2 separate regions of the Homo sapiens genome follow, and region 2 is linked to region 1. The links are contacts of gene promoters, found by promoter capture Hi-C in human tissues and cell types (Jung and others, 2019). All regions are on one chromosome and are shown on one strand. The core of a region is centred on a gene start or on the middle of the fragment in contact, and the rest is flanking DNA. Distances in the headings are between cores, read along the strand shown. Region 1 holds the start of FABP3 (fatty acid binding protein 3). Region 2 overlaps PUM1 (pumilio RNA binding family member 1).

Evidence for each region. The method cuts DNA at HindIII sites, captures the fragments that hold promoters and counts their contacts. A contact is called where the count stands out against the background at its distance.
Region 2: a contact is called between a fragment that was not itself captured here and the fragment with the promoter of FABP3 in region 1, in 1 of the 25 tissues and cell types used here (mesendoderm cells).

Annotation. Positions count from the first base shown.
Region 1 is chr1:31,369,996-31,375,353 of GRCh38, forward strand. FABP3 (fatty acid binding protein 3) reads right to left here and starts at 3,081. Exons shown (of 4, transcript NM_004102.5): 1 at 2,947-3,081. The coding sequence starts at 3,019. LOC124903892 (a long non-coding RNA gene) reads left to right here and starts at 4,304. Exons shown (of 2, transcript XR_007065573.1): 1 at 4,304-4,392. RefSeq lists a silencer at 3,267-3,561. The HindIII fragment of the contact is 11,361 bases long and covers 171-5,358 here.
Region 2 is chr1:31,011,922-31,017,596 of GRCh38, forward strand. The region is part of intron 3 of PUM1 (pumilio RNA binding family member 1); the gene reads right to left. Among named protein-coding and RNA genes, the nearest start is that of SNORD103C, 47 kb to the left of the region's middle. The HindIII fragment of the contact is 4,000 bases long and covers 1-3,746 here.

The DNA of each region.
Region 1 (5,358 bases), core at 1,831-4,330:
TCAGGAGGCTGAGGCTGAGAATTGCTTGAACCTAGGAGGTGGAGGTTGCAGTGAGTCGAGATTGTGCCACTGCACTCCAGCCTAGCCAACAGAGTGAGATTCCACCTCAAAAAAAAAAAAAAAGCTACTATTAAGTACTATGAGCTTTTTGTGTAGTAAGAACTGTACATGTTATCTCATTTAGTTCTTCCTGTTCTTCTGAAGACTGTTTCCACGTTACAGATACAAAAACAGAGGTAAAGCCCAGGGTCACAAATCTGAGATTGAAGCCCAGAATTGTCTGAGTCCAGAGCTTGCTTAAGTGCTCAGCTATACTACCTCCCAAGGCTGGAGCATAAGGCTGCCTTCCAGGGCACCTGAAAAGCTCTCAAAGCCTTAGGAATAAGGCTGAGGAAAGAAGAGAAACATAGACTTTCCCTTCCAAAGCCTTAGGCATAGGAGTTTTCCAACTTTGGAAGTTTTTACCCTGAAACTAAGAAGTGTTAGTGCTCTTGTCCCTTATACATGGCAACCCATCATTTTCAAAGCCTGTTATCTATGATCTAGGAGTTAGGTACAAAGGAAGTATTTGTCCTATTGTGCAGATTCAGGAGGAGCCTAAAGCGGTAGCAACAATGAGTTAGACTCAAACCCGTCTCCTGACTCCCAGTCTAAGGCTTTACAGAGACTCTCTTCCTGACCCAAGCATGGCTTCCTTGGGTACTGGGCAAAGTCCTAAGTGTCCTGCAACCAAGTAAAGAACAAAGAACTAATCATGACTGCCCCCTCTCCCCCCAGCAGCTTAACATTGAACTGTCTTCCAAGGCAAAGGTGAGGCAGGAGGCAGCCCAGTGTAGTGAGGTGGTGTGTGTAAAGTCTCCAAATGTACCTGGCTACATAGTGCTTGCTGGAAGCTAGGTACTCTGCACATGCCCTACATGGGTTGTTTTACTTAATGCTTGTAACAGCCTCGAAGCGTAGATTATCCCCAGTTTACAATGAAGAGTGCGAAGTGTCTTGTCGAAATTCAAAGAGAATAAACTACTGACATAGATTTGAACCTCGGCTCCAAAACTGTTGACTATTTTCACTGGGCGATTCTGTCCAGCACATACTCAATCCAGGCCAGCAGTTGTGCCTGTGGTCACTGGTACTAGACGGGACCTCTTTGCCCCTTGAGAGCCCTAGGTCTACAGCAGGAGGGGCAGGGGCTGCCTCTGCTGTTATGCTGTCAGCCCACCCTTGCTTGGCCAGTGAGGAACTTGGCATTGCCCCTTGGTATCAGGATGAGTCAGGCCAATCACACTCCCTTGCACAGAGCAGGACCTTGTCACGGCACTGGGAGCTCTGTTCACTTAGGATCTACCCAGAGGTATGGAGTGTTTGAAAAGGAAACCACTGCGGGATGAGTGAGGGTCTGAACCAAGAGAAACTAAGAATATTGAGCTGACAGAATTTAGGAGACTCAGGGAGATCTGGGTTCTACTTAGAAATGAAGCCAGCACTACTTACTGAGAGCTGAGGAGGGTATTTTCCCAGGCTTTCCATTCCTACGATGAGAATGCTGGCTGCCTTAACATAAGCTGCTGAAAGATAACAGGACTTCAGGGAGACCAGCCCGCTGACCCAACTCGGGGCAGAATAAGGGAACAAGAATGGTAAAGTTGTTGCAGCTCAATTCAAGACTCAGCTCTGGCCCAGCTTTGGAAGGAGGAACTAAATCTGGGCATTCCAACTTCCCAATAGCTGCTGGGCTGTGTTCGTGGGGGCTGGGGGCTGCTCCTCTAAGAATGACTGCCTGCCTAGAATTACTGGGCATAGCGCCCAAGATAGGGTAGAGGCCGTTGAGAGCTTTGACCTCTCCATCTAAGCCCAAAGCAGTAGAAGAAGGGCTGAGGTCAATCATTAGCTAAGCAGTTTCTACTTTTCTTCCCACTCGCAGGGCCTGTAGGGTAGTGGGAAGAGCTCTGGGTTACAGATCTAGAAACCTTAGATTTTCATATTGGCTCTGCTGTGGAATTGTTATAATACATTTCTACTCTCCTGGTTTCAGTTTCCCTGTTGAACTAGATGGTATGGGAATCTCCAAGTTCCTCACCTGTGAGATTCTTTGAATCCTGATTCTTCTCCATCCCAACACCACAGCAGTTCTCCACATCCTCCTAAACCAGTGATCCTCCCTCCCAGGTCTTGACCTTGCCTTGGGACCCTCTACTGCACATCAGAAGTCCAATGGCTTTCTCTGCCTACCCCTCGCACAGATAGGTGAGCCTTGGGTTGCAGGAAAGGCCCAGCTGATCATGGGCCTCTTGCCCCACCCTACCACGAGGCTCACAGACAGTGATGAAGGCCTGGATACATAGACTGCAGGACAAGGTCAGACTGGCTGGTGAGAAAGGGCATTCTCCAGCAAGAATTCTCTTCCCTAACCAAGCAGAGATGGGGATTGCTGCTTACTGCAGGTTCCTGTCTTACGTCCTTCTCATATCTGATTCACTGATCCACAGTTTTTTCCCCACTAATCTTTTTCCTCCTAGGTATTTCCTACTTGTTTACATCATTGTACACTCCCTGGCTGCCCCATTCCCTTTCTGGGTTCAGTCTCCTCCAATTTCTAAACTACCCATGCCCCTGTTCTTTTTCTCCCCTGGCTACACTCCCTTTCCTGTGATCAGTGTTCTTTATCCAAACCCTCCTCCTACCTCCAAATCACATATCCCTCTTCCTGGAAAGAGCCTCCCACACAGCTGCCTCCTTCCACCACCTCCCTACCGTGGTCTCTAACCAGATTTGGACCACCAAAGCCCCCTCTGAACAGGCCCCACCTGCTCTAGGCCAGGCTGCCATCTCCGCGCTCCCCTATTCCCCAGTCTTAACCAGGAGGGATGCGGCAGGAGTGCTGCGTGGGGCTAGGCACGCCACCAGCCAGTCCCCAAGCCAACATCCTGAGCCCCGCGGCTTGCTCACCGAGTGACTTCATGTAGTCATCGAAATTCTTGCTGTCCACTAGCTTCCAGGTGCCCAGGAAAGCGTCCACCATAGTGATGCTGGGCTAGGCTGAGAGAAGCTACAAGAGAGCAGGCGTGCAAGGGCTCCGACGGCGGCTCCCTGCCCGGGCTGCCGCTTTAAATAGCCCTCGCATCACATGAGGAGACGTGGCCCACGCCCCCGGCTCCCGAAATAGGAAGCCCCAGGCTAGGGCTCACCCAGGAGGGGCTGGTGCGCCCATCCCCCAACCCACCGAGGTGGGTGGGGACCAGCCAGTGGCGCCCTGCTAGCCTGCGTCAGCGCCAGTGCCTGGCCCCCGAGTCCCTACCCCAGGCTGGTAGGACCTTCTCCCTTTCCTGGCCTCTAGGCACTCTGGAATCTGAGAAGGAAGCAGCCAACACCAGCCCGAGAGCTAGGGCGCATGCCATGGTGGATATCTTCCCGTCCCCCAGTCCCTCTTTGAGCTTAGCGTCAGAGCAGAGATGAGACTAGAAAAGCAAAACGCCCTTGGGCTGGTGCCCACGCCGGGGAAAGCTCTGGTTGACTTCTGGCACGGGCATCTGTCCTCGTTTTACAAGTGAGGAGTCCGAGGCTCACAGGGGAACTGACAAGGTCTCAAGAAATAGGAGGGGGTGAATGGAGCTCAGATTGCAAGCTTAGTCTAGCGGGCTTCAGAGCTCGCGCTCTCCCTTCACTCTCACTGCCTGGTGGCGGAGACAGTCACCAGCGGCTCGGTCTGCGGCTGAGCTGACCTTGTCCTCTGCCTGTTTTGAGCAAAAGCCTGACCCTTCGCGCCCCGCCCGCCTCACACGTGCTTGCCCCTCCCTGCGGAATGTCTCCTGCTGGCCCTCCTCCGTCCCCACCCCACCCCACCATCTAGCTCCCCACCCGCCCCTGCAAGTGCTCTGGGCTTTTCCGGTTTCTTCGCACAGCTCCGAGCTTTAGCTCAGGTCGTTCCCAGCTCCCCTCCTGCAGAAATTCTGCCAATTCGGTCAGCTCTTCAAGGCCCATGGCTGCCTTCCCCACCTGCCGCCCTTTCTTTGGCCTGTGCACACTAGCAAGCCGCCTGCACTTTTGGGTAATTTGCTGCCTCCTTTCGAGAGCCTGTTGTGCGGTGGTTTGTCACTGTATAGTTTACTAAGCACTTTCAGTAAAAATAAGACCTGCCTTGTCTTGCTATTTATTGCATGCTGAGGGCTTTGGGTGTATTGTTTCATTGAACTTTTTATTTTATTATTATTTTTTAGAGACAAAGTCTCTCGCTGTGTCTCCCAGGCTGGAGTACTGTGACGCCATCATAGCTCACTGCAGCCTCAAACTCCGGGGCTCAGGGGATCCTCCTACCTTAGCCTCCCCAGCAGCTGGGACTATAGGCACACGCCACCACACCTGGCCTCATTGGACTTTTAAAGCAAAATCCATGAAGTAGGTGTTACTGTATTATTTTCTCTTTTTAAAAAGGTGAACAAGTTGAAGCTCTGAGGAGCTCACTCATTAATTCAGCAGTTAATAAAGCACCTACTTTGTGCCAGGCCCTGCTTTGGAGAGAGACAACAGGGAACAAGACACACATTCACCTCTGGGCAGCCAGACATAAAACTAGCGTGGTGCCTCTAAAGGGAGTCCTGTCCTGTCCTGACCTGAGGGCCCAATGTAGACTTCTCAAAGGAAGTGAGGTATAAATGAATTTCTGAGGGATGGCAGGAGGCCCTGCACACCAAGGAGTAGTGCCGAACTGAATTTCAGCCAGCAGCAGCCTGTCCAGGGTGGGCCTGCAGGAGCCAACACAGGAGCCCAGAGGCCTGCCACGTGCGTAGAGTATGGCAGGCCCTCCTTCCTGGGACTCTGTTTCTCCATGTGCAAACCCTGCCTCCCTTCCCTGGACTGTTCTGAGAACAAGGCCAGGGAGGAAGAGCCCTCTCCCCACCCTAAGATCTTGATTCCTTTGGACGGTCCAGTTGCCAGAAGACTCAGAGGCTCATTTCTGCCAAAGCTATAGGGACAGGCTTCAGGGCTGGGCATGGAGCCTTGGTGATCTCACTGTTGGAACAGGTGCCAGGAGAGGAGGAGGGGGAAAAGATGATTTCTGACTCAAGGTCGCAGCCCTCACACATAGGGCCTCCTCTCAAGGACTGTGTGGCCAGGAACTAGAACTGACTCCTTATGTGGCCCTTGTAATGCAATGATGGAGAGCTGGGGCTGGGCTAATGGCTGCTGGCAGATCTGCGTTCTGATCTGAATTTTGTTGGGTACTAGCTGTGTGGCCTTGGGCAATTCACTTAAGCCATTCTGAGTCTCCATTTTTTTTTTTTTTTTTTTGAGAAGGAGTCTCGTTGCCCAGGCTGAAGTGCAGTGGTGTGATCTTGGCTCACTGCAACCTCCACCTCCTGG
Region 2 (5,675 bases), core at 497-2,996, 360 kb before region 1:
AACAAAAGCAAAAGAGACCCAAGGAATCAGATGTAGCCAGTATTATCCAGGTGACACATTTAAGGGCAGGGCATATGATGCACAAAGAAGCCTATTCTTATCAAAGCAATTAATGCATCTGGTTAGATAGTAGCTTAATTACACTGGACACTAAAAACACCCAAGTAATCTCCCTGGCTCCAACTCTGCTTACCAAGCCACCTTCTTAAAGAACTGGCTTCCTCCTATAGCCAACCATGCCAATCACCAAACACAACCATCCTTGTCCATCTAAGAGTTGTTTTTTTTCCTTAAAAAAAAAAAATCAGCAGACTGCATTTTGGTTTTCATACATTAGCCTCTTGTTGTTCTGGTTAGTGTGGGGTCAATATCGCAACCCAGTCATCTGAATTAGTAATAACAGTCCATTTCAAGATCTACAAACTGAGAACCATGACTTGGGGAGTCCTATCATCCCCAGCAATAAAATAAATAGACCTTGTACTCTTTCTTGTAATGAAACATTAAGTGGAATTCCTAACTGCCCCACCAATAGTGTGTGCTCTCAAATCTCTGGGAGAAACACACACACGTACACTGTTTATCCCACCCTGAATCGTAAGTTTATAAAATAAAAAAACTTATGAAAAGTAAAAAAAAAAAAAAAAAAAAAATTCAGTAAGCTTATCTATGAGGCTTCTGGAAAACAAAATAGAAGTCAAGCACTGGTTTACAAGCAATGTCAGCCACTTGAGACACTTCTTTTAAATTTGTCTGGAAACACCTTTTTTCCTTTCCATCTAACAAAAAAGAACAATACGCAAAACCACACTTAACACTTAACAATCAATCATGTCATAAACCCCTACACCAAGAACCCTTAAAACATGGATTAAGACAATAAAAAGTGGAGAATATCAAGAAACTCTAAGCTTCTTATTTTAAGAACAGTGATAAAGACCCATGAATGCTCTGAAATCACTTTATTTTAAACTAGTTTTAAATCCCAGCTGTGTGAATTTTATCCTCTTCTGCTTTTTCTCACCTATAAAATGACCTATTGTGTACAATGAAAGAGATAACACATGTAATGACATAATACAATGCTGAAACAGTAAACAAAAAATCAGCTACTATCCTTCTTTAAAAGAGCAAAGTAGCAGCCAATAGACATCACAATACTAATGATTTGTCAATGAAATGCTCCTATGTCAAACTATCAGACACAGTGATCATGGCATCACCTAGGCCATGTCAGTACAAACCTCATTACATTAACTACCCCAACAAAACAACACTACAAGAACCATGATTACGGCTTTTCAGGAACTGCAGAGGCAAGACAATTATTGCCTGGACTTGTTTGACCATACCGCCACTAATATTTGAATAGGGATTTATCAATGAGGTTTACTGATGATCTCAACAGTAAAAGGGCTCTCCAGCAACTACTCTGTACTCAAAAGGAATAAAATATTAGGTAACTGCTTACACACTCAATACAGGCTGCACAGAGCATCTCTCAGAGCAGAAATTGAGCATCTTAAGAAATACTACTAACATGGATGTTACAACCCTGCAGACGTGATCAGTTTGATCATGTTATTATCTAGCATCTCTAACTTACAACACAAGCTTAGTTTCACTGGAATGCAGCCAATGCAGGAAACAAATGCTTGATATTTAACTAGCTGGTAAGACAGACCAACAACCAAAACAATTATTAATCTCTTAGTATATATCTCACCACACTCTCAGTACATTAAGAGAAGATGACATCAACTCAGAGAAAGGACCTTTCAGAACTAACTGAAATGAGGAAGTTTGATTGGTAACCACTGATAATCACAGGTGGTAGTCTTACTTGTAAAAATTTTGTATTTTTCACAACTTATGTAGTCTCTCCATACCACAGACTGTTGTTGTGAAATCAAGTGAGATAGTATATGAAGTGCTTTTATAAATACTAAGAACTATACTGATATTAAGTTATACTAAAGCTTTATTTAAAGCTTTAACTTATTAAAACATATCTTTAAGAAAAGCCAAGTTCATTCATTCCTGGTTAGCGTAATTCTTTTGGAAGGGCCTCAGAAACTACATACGTATCAAAAGTCACAGCCAGGTATGATGGCTGATTCCTGCAATCCCAGCACTTTGGGAGGTGAGGCAGGAGGATAGCTTGAGTCTAGGAGTTAAAGACCAGCCTGGAAAACATGTGACAGCCCATCTCTACAAAAACTTAAAAAAGCCAAGTGTGGTAGCACATGCCTGTGGTCCTAGCTATTCAGGAGGCTGACCTAGGTGGGAGGATCACCTGAGCCCAGGAGGTCAAGGCTGCAGTGAGCCATGATTGTGCCACTGCACTCTAGCCTGGGCAACAGAGCAAGATCCAGTCTCCAAAAAAAAAAAAAAAAAAAAAATCTACATTCAAAGTGCTTGTAAAAATAAAAAAAAGTCGAGGCTGGATGCAGTGGCTCATGCTTGTAACCCCAGCACTTTAGGAGGCTGAGGTGGGAGGGTCACTTGAGGAGTTCAAGACCAGCCTGAGCAACATGCCAAGACCCAATCTCTATTTTTAAACATTAAAATTAAAAAAAAAAGAATTAAAAAAGTTGAAAGTAGGCCTGTAATCTCAGCACTTTGGGAGGCTGAGGCGGGCGGATTGCTTGCGGTCAGGAGTTCAAGACCAGCCTGGACAACATGGTGAAAACCTGTCTCTACTAAAAATACAAAAATCAGCCAGGCGTAGTGGCCAGGCGCCTATAATCCCAGCTACTCGGGAGGCTGAGGTAGCAGAATCACTTGAACCCAGGAGGCGGAGGTTACAGTGAGCCAAGATCGCACCACTGCACTCCAGCCTGGGCGACAGAGCAAGACTGTGTCTCAGAAAAAAAAAAAAAAGTTGAAAGCAAACTGCAAACTAAGTATTCAACAATAAATTAGCTGTGGGCCTGGTGCAGTGGCCCACACCTATAATCCCAGCATATTGGTAGGCAGAAGGATCACTTGAGGCCAGGAATTCAAGACTAGCCTGTGCAACATAGTGAGACCCTGTCTCTTTAAATAAATAAATAAGCAAGCAAACAAGTTGTAGTACAACAATGTAAGCTCACCAAAAATAGCCATAATGACTACATGTAATATTTATAAAATAACATTAAATTTTAAAAGTAAAATACAAAATTGTACATGTAAAGACTGCTTCTCCTCATGCATTCTTCCCTTTTGGATCAAGACTGGAAAGAAAAATAAAAGCAGAAGAGTGTTTGTTAGTGCACTGGGATTGTGGATTACTTAATTCAAAATATACTTTTGTTATGATTTTCAACTAATTCTCTAATAAATAAAACTGAGATTATGGTGGTCTGAAATTCACTGCAAATAAATAAGGCATATCTCTCAAGCAGATACATTTCACTTCAACATAATTTCATTTTCTTTTTCTTTTTTTTTTTTGAGACGGAGTCTCGCTCTGTTGCCCAGGCTGGAGTGCAGTGGCATGATCTCGGCTCACTGCAAGCTCCACCTCCTGGGTTCACGCCATTCTCCTGCCTCAGCTTCCCGAGTAGCTGGGAATACAGGCACCTGCCACCACGCCTGACTAATTTTTTATATTTTTAGTAGAGACGGGGTTTCACCATGTTACTCAGGATGGTCTTGATCTCCTGATCTCGTGATCTGCCCACCTCGGCCTCCCAAAGTGCTGGGATTACAGACGTGAGCCATCACGCCCAGCCACTTCAATGTAATTTATTTATTTTTCTTTTTTTTTCTTTTTTTTTTTTTTGAGATGGAGTTTCTCTATTGTTGCCCAGGCTGGAGTGCAATGATGCGATCTCAGCTCACCGCAACCTCCGCCTCCTGGGTTCAAGCATTTCTCCTGCCTCAGCCTCCGGAGTAGCTGGGATTACAGGCATGCGCCACCATACCTGGCTAATTTTGTATTTTTAGTAGAGATGGGGTTTCTCCATGTTGGTCAGGCTGGTCTTGAACTCCTGACCTCAGGTGATCCACCCGCCTCGGCCTCCCAACGTGCTGGGATTACAGGCATAAGCCACTGCGCCTGGCCACTTCAATACAATTTCAAAAGGGCAAAAGTTAATAGCAATTTTAAGAAGAGAGCTCATGTCCTAAATTTCAAATATTTTTAAGCAAGCTGATACAGGCTTAGCATCCTTAATCCAAAAAAATGCAAAATTTGAAATGCTCTAAAATCCAAAACTTTTTGATTGCCAATGTGACAGTCAAAGGAAATGCTCACTGGATCATTTCAGATTTCACGTTTCCAGATTGGGCTGTTCAGCTAGTAATTATTATGCAAATATTCCAAACATCAAAAAATTCCAAAACATTTCTGGCCCCAAGTATTCTGGGTAAGAGATACCCAACCTGTAATAAACTTCCAACTCATTTTGAAAATTGTTGCTTAAATAAGGAATGTTAAAAATGTTGAGTGTTCCATCACAAGCCAGTTTTTTTAATTAAAAATAAGTATATAAAGCAAAGAATTTTTAAGTTTTCACCTTCTCTTTCAGTGAAGGAATAAGATCTTCCAAATTCTCGTTTTGCATTTATATATATGTATATATTCATGGTATTAAAAATAATCTACATATAAGCAGAGTGAAGTGCATCCACTTTAATCAGTTACTCAATACTTACATGTAAAGATGTTAAATGTTAAAATTTGTGTTCTCATTAATTTAATTCAAATCACCAAAAAAACTGTCTAAGAATCAACATCTCCAATAATTTTCTTCATATTTCTCTACTAGGTATCATCACAATCTGGCATGCAGTAATTACTGCTTAAAATTTTTACCCTGTTGTTTCAAATGGTTACTACTGAAAACAGATTACCATAGACATGGTGGTGTCTTAACAAAATGCCTCTTTTGGCTGAAATCTAATATACTGCTTTTAAAAAAAGCAAACTTTAATCTGTTGCATAATTATAATTATGCAGTATATAAATTAACAGATTTTTTAAAGGTTTTCCCAGGTTATTAAGCACCTTTTATAAGCACTGTTGATACCTGTATCTAATGCCTTTAAATAACACTTCCTCCACTAAGGATGAAATCAAGGAGATCGCAGAGTATAGGACAAGATGAGGTAATCTGATCTTCTCTCCCACAACTGGGAAATCAACACTGCTTTTCTGACTATTGAAAAAATAAATTTCAGTATTTGAAGTACTTGCTGATGCCCAAAAGTACTACTTGCACACACCCTAAAATGCACAGCCTGCATTAGCCACTATTGGAAAAAACAAAAAAAGCAGTAAAAGACATTCTTTGCCCTGAAGGAACTTAAAAGATTAAAAAGAAAAACCAGAGTCAAACGGACACGTAATTTTAAGATAAGCACACTGCCTAATAATGGAGTATAGACTGCTAAAATTCACAACCTACTACAGATGAAGAAAGGAAGAGTAACCAACCACACCAATGAAGAAATGAACCTGGGATAGGATGGTCAAGAAGTATCTTAAAGAAGGGGACAGAATTTAGAGCAAGCTTGTCCAACCCGCAGCCCAGAACTGCTTTGAATGTGGCCCAATACAAATTCATACACTTGCTTAAAACATTATGAGATTTTATTTTGCGATTTTTTTCTTCTTTTTTTTTTTTAGTTCATCAGCTATCACTAGTGATAGTGTATTTTATGTGTGGCCCAAGATCACATTCTTC